Linked DNA regions of Homo sapiens: region 1 is linked to region 2. Evidence: promoter capture Hi-C in human tissues and cell types (Jung and others, 2019). All regions are on one chromosome and are shown on one strand. The core of a region is centred on a gene start or on the middle of the fragment in contact, and the rest is flanking DNA. Distances in the headings are between cores, read along the strand shown.

Region 1 (4,130 bases), core at 565-3,064, 150 kb before region 2:
AAACATCTTTAATTGAGCAGACAGGGAATCTGAAAAGGAAGGTTTTCATCGGAGCCCATTCTCAGTTCCTTGGCATTCTAGGGTCAGACCTCTGGTTAGCCCTAAAGCCCTTCTCCTCAAGCTAGAAACATAAAAATACTTTTTCTGATTTTGTAGTTTTTTGGGGTCTAGAATTTTAAAGTGCTGACACTTCCTCTGGCTGGCTTTCCTGTAACCTATTATTAATTGTTATTATTAGAAGTTTGCCCAATGATTTAGATTCAAACATTAAATTTAATTCTAGTTAATTCTCTTCCCCTAGATATGACACCAAGAGATATTCTCTTAGTAAAATAATACTATGTGCGTTAAACTTCTCTAAGAGAGGACGAATGTATTCCTGCGGAGGAGATGCATGTCAGGTGGTCTCTTGAATAATGTGTATGTCCTGCATCTCTCACCACTTACATAGTGATTACTTAAATCACTCTTTCAAACTAGGCCACCCAATCCCAAAATTATATGCAGTAATTTAGTTTGATTTGGTTTGTTTGGGTATATATGACCATAACTTAGAAAAATTGTTCACCAATTAAAAGTGGTGTAGACAACAGTTTCTAATACACTTTTCCTGGCTTCTGTAATAACTCAAGTCTCAGTCTGAGTGACGGTCCATTGACACTTCTCTGATTTCCTCCAAAAAGTAATAAATAAAGGCTTACTTCCAAAGCTAGCTAAAAACTAACCTCCTGAACTAAATTTGCCTTTCAGTGAAGGTTGGTTAGGTAACAAAGGCAATGACACTGAAGTAGTTACTGGAATTTGGATAGGTAGCACAGGAAATCCAAGTGGAATGCCACTTTAGAATCCCATACACATAATAAGGCAGTAAGACTTTTGTACACATCCAACAATTTTTAAAGGTTTTTTTTTTTTTTTAGCAAAAATGCAACTACATCCCCTCCATGTGCATTTCATACACTAAAGGCCATTTTGTGGTGGTGTGGTGGGTTTTCCCAGGGTTTTCTAAAATCCTTTTCAGGTACATTTCCTGCCCCGCCCCCTGCAGGTCTTCCAGGATGCAAAGCCAGTGTGCTCACTCTTCTCAAAGTGAGGTGCCAGGCCACCGAGCGTAGGGTCCTTCAGCAGTGCACAGGATGTGGGCTCTGGCTTCTTCAAGTACCGTGGACCACGGCCCTTGGGTCAACAGCACCGGCGGCTGGCTTGCATGGTTGGCTTCTCAACTTTGATTGTTCCATTGTTTCCATTTTCATGGGGGTCCAAGGGTGGGATCTGGCGGCCTGCAACAAAAAGGAGGCCAAGGGTGAGTTCCCTTTCCTACAGCCAACACTGCACACACAGATTTTCACCCTGCTTCAACACTCCTGCTTTGGGCTGTGCACAAAATAAAGGTGTTCCTGGAGGGGCTCCTTTCTCCTTCCTTCCTTTCCTTCCTCCCTTCCTTCTTCCTATCCTTTCCTCCCTAGTTCTGCTGCATGAAGCCCAATTCATGGGCTTAGGAAGTTCAGGTAAGGAACAGTCCAGCAGTTTCCTGGTGGTGTGGAATTCCTGGGCTAGGAAGATCCACTCCTGGGGGCAGCTCCCATCCAGCCTCCGCTCATCAGCGCGCTCTTCCCTCTCCCTGCCTTCCCAGAGACCCATCCTGGTTTAATGAGCGGCTTTCATGGTACCGTGACTTCAACAGTAACAGTGAGTACTCATCCATCTTTTCTGCTTCTCAAAATAGAAATAGATTTGAATTGTAATCTTCCTAGCAGTGTCATTTATTAACACTTAGCTCATCATCCCTCATCCTGCCAATGCATTTAGATCATTAACTGGAAAGCCCTACAGAGACACTTTTCATAGGAAACAGTATTTTAATGTCATCCACAAGTAATCTTATTTTTACTTAACTTAATTTTAAAAATTATCAGAAAGTCTCTATAAATAAACACAAAATCAAAATTAAACAGGCAATGGAAGGGGCCAGGGAGATGACAGCTAAAGGGTATGGGTTTCTTTATGAGGTGATTTTTCTAAAATTGACTGTGCTGATGGCTGCACAGATCTGTGAATATACCAACACCACCGAATTGTACATTTGAAATGGGTGAAATGTATGGTATGTGAATTTTATCTCAATAAAGTTGTTTTCTGAAAAAAGGCAATGGAATCTGGAAATAACCTTAGTAGCTCCCAGTTTTCAAAGATTTTCACAAACACCATCCTCACCTCGCCCTGTGAATTTGATGTAATGGTCGTTATTATCACCATTTCACTGTGACTCGAGAACTTGAGCACTTTGCTGAAGGTCCCATCAATAACAGGCAGTAGTACAGCTGGTGCTTTGATTATAATCTACACCTTGACTTCCTGATGGGTCGCAAGGCCTGTGCTCTTCCCACTGAACCACATTAGGTCTCTTTGCTACTTTTCTATGCCCCTTGAAAAAGGCATGAAACACTAGCTCTAAAATGAGGATTTTGTTTTATTCTTGAGACAGGGTCTCACTCTGTCACCCAGGCTGAAGTGCAGTGGCTTGATCATGGCTTACTGCAACCTCGAATTCCGGGGCTAAAGGGATCCTCCCACCTCAACCTTCTGAGTAGCTGGGACTATAGGTGTGCGCCACCATGCCCCGATAAATTTTTTTTTTTTTTTGTAGAGATAGGGTCTTGCTATGTTGCCCAGGCTGGTCTCAAACTCCTGGCCTCAAGTGATCCTCTCACCTTGGTCTCCTAAAGTGCTGAGATTACAGGTATGAGCCACCAGGCCTAGGCTAAAATGAATATCTATATCTATCTATCTATCTATCTATCTATCTATCTATCTATCTATCATCTATCTATCTATCTATCTATCTATCTATCTATCTATCTATCTATATTATTGGCTAGTTAGTGTATTCATTTGCTAAGGAACCAGTAATTAGAAGTGGAAGGGAAATTGGTTCTAAAGACAAAGTCTTTTTTTTTTTTGGTTGTGGTATTGATTTATTTTTCCCCAGCACATCTTAAAAATCACACATGGGCATTTGCTTAGAAAACAGTACAGTCTAAGAAAACCAGTAAGAGGAGAATCTGAACACACACTGATAGCACGGAATACTGACTATGCGCTGGGCCCTGACAAAGTCTTTTAATGCAAGTGGGTGTTACCTAATGACAATATAGAGCACCAAAACACCCCAGCAGAGGTGCATTTCCACAAGGGACAAAAAGAGTTGATTTCAAAGGTAATAATACATTGTGTAGATCAGATGGTATAGACAGTCACCAAAGCTTCAGCATAAAGATGAAGGTCACCAGCATTTAACTCCAAACTCAAAAGTAATAGTAGAGATCTTCATTTGATGATGAAGCAAATGAAAAGTTTGCAACAATTTCTGCAGCTGTGGCTTTTGCCATTTTGTGTAGCCAACAGAGATCTACAGAGCTTTTGCAGGACATCTCCAAAAACTTCAGTCCCAATCCAGGAGGAAAGGAGACCATAAGTATGAATTTTCCTTTTCTGGACATGCTATTCTTTTAAATTTATCACAATTAAAAGGGAGTAAACAAAATGCCTCTTCTACTTGGTCAACCTTAAGTGATAAATAGAGAAGGAAGTCTCCAATGACTACCAGTACTCTTTAAAGATCTAGCCAAGTCAGATCTTGCCAATAAAGAGTTACTTACTCCTGAAGAGAAAGGGGTGACAGTGTCGAGTTACATCATTATTGAAGTTAGTAATATTTCAGGAGCCTCCTGAGTGTGTTACACACTGCAATCAGGACTTTTGCTTTTGCACCTGAAATATTTTTGGACAGTACTATAATTCTCATGGGTACAGCTGTTGCCCTAGTTAGCCAAGAGCTGTTTACTTATCAGTAAAAGGAGTTGACATTTTAGCATTTTTCACTGTATCAAAATCAAATTCTATGTTAACATCAAAACTTTGTGCTGTCCTTATGCTAATCCTAATGTTAGCAGAACAGCATTAGCTTTTTAGCCCTCCATGACTTTATTTCCCTCATGTCTTGTTTTCATAAGTTTTTTGCTTTGGAAAGTACACAAATTAAAGAAAAAGTTTATATGTAAGACAGTTATTAAAGTGACAAAAGTATAATGAAAATCTAGAAAGGAAGAGCGTACAGATAGCAAAGTAGG
Region 2 (3,961 bases), core at 222-2,721:
AGACTAGATCCTGGCTGTGGCTGAGCAAGTCGGGGGAGGTGGGGATCTGTGCGGATCTGTGCCAGGGGCTAGCAGGGAGGGCAGGGCCTTCCCAGATCCTCTGGAATTCTAAGCCAACCGGACAATCGAGTTAGCGTAAGGGATGGTTTTGGAAGAGGCCGGTGATGGGAGCCGATGATGGGAGCCTGCCGGAGGTTCCACAAGAGCCTAGAGGAAGCCTAGAGACGCTGGCACAATTCAGTCCTCACCGAAATCATTTCCTCTTTCTACAGTTCTTGTACCCCCATCTTGACAGATCAGTTCGCACAAGAATGCGACCCTTTCGCTGCCCTTTTTTAGGAAATGGTTTTCATGAGACCAGCTTTGCCAATGACACGGGCGGGTACACCAGATGCTAATGGCTGCTGAAAACGCCCTTAGAACCGGCTCTTCTTTTAGAAGAAGGAATTCTGGAATGCGGAGTGGGCCCCCGAAAGGAAGCGACCCTACGTTTATCTGAATTCCCAGGGGCGGTTCGCCAGCGGCTCCCTGCGTCCTCGCCGGGTCCCCTGTCTGCAGTCCCCGGGCCGCACGGATTGACTGCTTTTTTGTTTCTGGCTGCTTTAAGGCTTCTTCGGGCGGAGAAAACCCCACTTTAGGGGAGTGATGGTGGGGAGGACTTTCCCAGGCAGCTTCTTTCACCCGCAGCAGGGAAGTTTGCAGGGCGCGCTCCGCACAGGTCACTGCCTCACCTTCCACCCCGGCCGCGCCCTCGGCTTTCACCCCCTTGGCTGGGTTCGCTTTTGGTTTTATTTTTCTGTTTTACGTGAGTAAATCAATTGCCCCCAGGAGGCAAAAGAGCACTCAGCGACTTGGCTGAGCAACTTAAACTTTCTGCCGGAAGGAAACTATCAAAAGCGGAGGAGAAAGCCCTCGGGGCCCCAGACTCGCCGCCACTGCCCCGTCCCCGCTGGGGGTCCCCGCGAGGTCGCCGCGGATCCGGGGACTCGCGGGCCGGGAGGAAAGAGCGGAGTAAGCCCGGGGCAGGCTCGGACCCGGACCCCGGCAGGGTGAGAGCGGGGGCGGACCAGAGGGGCGCACGGACGGCGGGGAGGCGGAGAACAGGCGGGGTGCGGAGAGCGAGGGGCGCGGAGAGCGAGGGGCGCACGGACTAGGGGAGCCAGGGGGACCCGGGGAACCAGGGGGCGCGCGGACGAGGGGGACGGGGGCTACGAGAGGGGTGCGGAGAGCGAGGGGATCACGGGGACTGAGCGCGCAGGGAATAGGGGAGCGAAGGGGCGCGAGAGCGCGGGCCGGGGTCCGCCGGCGGGTGGCGGCCAGGACTCACCCCGAGAAGGCACACTTTGAGCTCCCGTATCGCCATCATGTGCTCGCAGCCAGGCAGTGCCGGGGCTCAGCAGCATCCTCCGGGGCCGCCGCGCCCGCGCCCCGCCGGCGTCTCTCGCCTCTGCCCCTCGCTCGCGCCGCCCGCGGGCGGAACCGCCGCCGCTGCTATTTCTGGGCCGCCGGCCCCGCCGCGGTGGGTCACGTGGCCGCCGGCCGGCTCCTCCCGGGCGCGTCGGGTCCAGCCTCGCCGGCCCCCAGCTCCCAGGAACGCCCCCGGACGGCGTCAGCCACCCGGGACCTGCGGCGTCGCCGGCGGATTGCCTCCGCCCTCGGACCAGCCCCGCGCGGGTCGGCCTCCCCCAGCGCCCTCCGGCATCCGCCCCTCCCGGCCCCGCCTGGCCGCAGGGCCCGGGTGGGTAGGAAGGACTGGACCGGCCCTGTGGAGACCTGGCCCCACTACCAGCGGGTCCCTGAAGATGCCATTCTCATCTGGAAAGCGAATGCTCTCGGCCGAGGCCGTTTGCGTGGCAGCGCGTGGAGGTCTGCGGGGGTCCCATCCTCAAGCGACATTCTGGGTCCCACGCAGAAAAAGTCAGGCCACTGAAGGGGCCGCTGTGAGGACAGGGGTGAGGAGAAGGGGGCTAACTTTTCGGCCTGCCTTTCTCGACGTTCCTAATACCCGAGCTTCCGTTTAACATATGTGTGGCTCTTCAGCTCAGCCAAGTTCATTTTTCTGTATGCAGCTGAAAATGATTCTAGAAGCAAAACTCGCTGTCCGTGTCTGAAACGGGAAACTTGCTTTCTGGAGCAAAAGTCTTTTTCTCAGTAGAGCAAATCCTGCAACTCGTGTGGGCAGAAACCCAGTCCTCAGAGGTACAGGTAGAAACGTGGAGATCCCAGCAGACCCCTGCATCGTTCCTAACTGGGAAATGAGCAGAGTCTGTGGCCGCACACAGTCGGGGAGGCTTGGGTAACTGTGTTCTCTTCTCCATGTATGGCCTAGAGCACCTCATCCACTCGGATGACTTCATTCGTTGCTGCTACAGAAATGTCAGCCTTTTCAATGTAATCTATCTGAACAATTCACTGGCATTTCAGATGGGAAATGTTTTTTTAAAAACTGATTTTTTGAAACTTCATCTCCTATCCCAAACTCTCAGGCCTCTCTCTTAACCTTCCAATTTTAATCAATGGCATTTCCATTCTCCTAGCAGACCACCCACCGTGATCATCTGGCTTTGTTCTTACGGAAGCCAGGTTGAAGCTACCCAGTACCCAAGTAGCCCCATCCAATGGGAAATTCCAAATCAAGGCCTCCAAAGAGATAAGTCCTGGAATACAGGAGTCAAAATGGGCCCCGAAACAGACAATTCACAATTAAATTCCCCAGAAGAGCAGGAAGTTTGCCCTCGAGGTGCAGGCTTGTAGAGATTACTCAAATGGACTAAACTGTACAAAAGGCAGCCATGGACAAGTTACAGGTCCATTGTATCAGTATCCGTCCTTGACTCTGTATCCAAAGCAGAGTCTTCTATGTGGGCAGGGTAAAAAGAGGCTTCCCCAGAATCAAACAGTCCTGATCACAATATCTCCCTGCCCTCAGATTTGCTAATCAGAAAACCACCCCTACACAGTTGCAAAGACACCTCCCCCAAGGCCTTCGCCAGCCCTGAGGGCACCTCCACAGTGAAACATGTCCTTTTGGCTTTCCAGCTTGATTCCCAAAAGCCAGTCAAACCAGGGTGGAAGCCTCCACTGTGTTCTACATCCCGTGCAGTGAGTGGAGCTTTGTGAAGTTGCCTTAGATTGCTAAGGGCAGAACTGTGCCCAGACAGAAATAGGCAAACCGAATTTCTCTTGTGTTCCCTTACTCTTTTTCATGACTGCTCTCATTCTGCTCTCTTCTCCACTAGCCCGGGTGTCTGGGACGCTTGCGTCGTTTCTAGGCTCTCCCAAAAGAGTCTCGTATCCAGCCCTTCCCTCCCTGAGAATCGCCCCAGTCTATTTGTCCTTCTCCCCTCCCCTAGTTCTGTTAAAAATGACCTCATTTGTGTCTCATTCTGATCAGGTCTTGGGCTCTTCTTTACAAAGTGGCAATCCTAGTCTGTCAACTGACTCGTGTTCATGGGTTTATACCCTCTTCCCAGCCAGGTCACCCCTGAGCTTAAACATGGCCTCATGAAAACCAGGTCCCCATGATCACCCTAAGGTAACCTACAAAGCTCTAGCCCTGGAAGGCAGGAAGATGACTGCTGGGAGACATATTTTAAGAGTGACACGTCAGAGGCAGCTCTCGACTTTTTAAAAAAGTGCCATGTTCTCTATTGTTACACTCTATGATTACTGTACTAAGGGCCCATCCTGACTTCTCTGGAATTTTCTGCAAATATGTAGTTCTGGTGTAACTTCAGCAGGGGTAAAAATTCAATGGTACATAACTGACAATTTATCAAATTAAGAAATAGAACATGCAAGTTTTTCTTATAAGAATTTTGTAACGTAAATGGTCATTGTGCTAATTCAGACCTCAACTTCTCTGCTGCTATAAAGTCTCCAACAGAAAAAGCCAGTAATGGTCATAAAACTGATCATGTTTTTTGATTCAGGAAATCCTTTTTTGAACAATAACATACAA

The links. The method cuts DNA at HindIII sites, captures the fragments that hold promoters and counts their contacts. A contact is called where the count stands out against the background at its distance.
Region 1: a contact is called between a fragment that was not itself captured here and the fragment with the promoter of RAB31 in region 2, in 1 of the 25 tissues and cell types used here (lymphoblastoid cells).

The regions. Positions count from the first base shown.
Region 1 is chr18:9,856,378-9,860,507 of GRCh38, reverse strand. It overlaps RAB31 (RAB31, member RAS oncogene family), which reads right to left. Exons shown (of 7, transcript NM_006868.4): 7 at 1-1,280. The coding sequence ends at 1,183. Among named protein-coding and RNA genes, the nearest start is that of TXNDC2, 28 kb to the left of the region's middle. The HindIII fragment of the contact is 5,057 bases long and covers 1-4,130 here.
Region 2 is chr18:9,705,811-9,709,771 of GRCh38, reverse strand. RAB31 (RAB31, member RAS oncogene family) reads right to left here and starts at 1,471. Exons shown (of 7, transcript NM_006868.4): 1 at 1,328-1,471. The coding sequence starts at 1,366. LOC124904244 (a long non-coding RNA gene) reads left to right here and starts at 1,800. Exons shown (of 2, transcript XR_007066281.1): 1 at 1,800-3,961. It overlaps LOC105371981 (a long non-coding RNA gene), which reads right to left and starts at 1,100. Exons shown (of 2, transcript XR_935131.2): 1 at 1-1,100. RefSeq lists silencers at 877-1,106, 1,207-1,776. The HindIII fragment of the contact is 12,091 bases long and covers 1-3,961 here.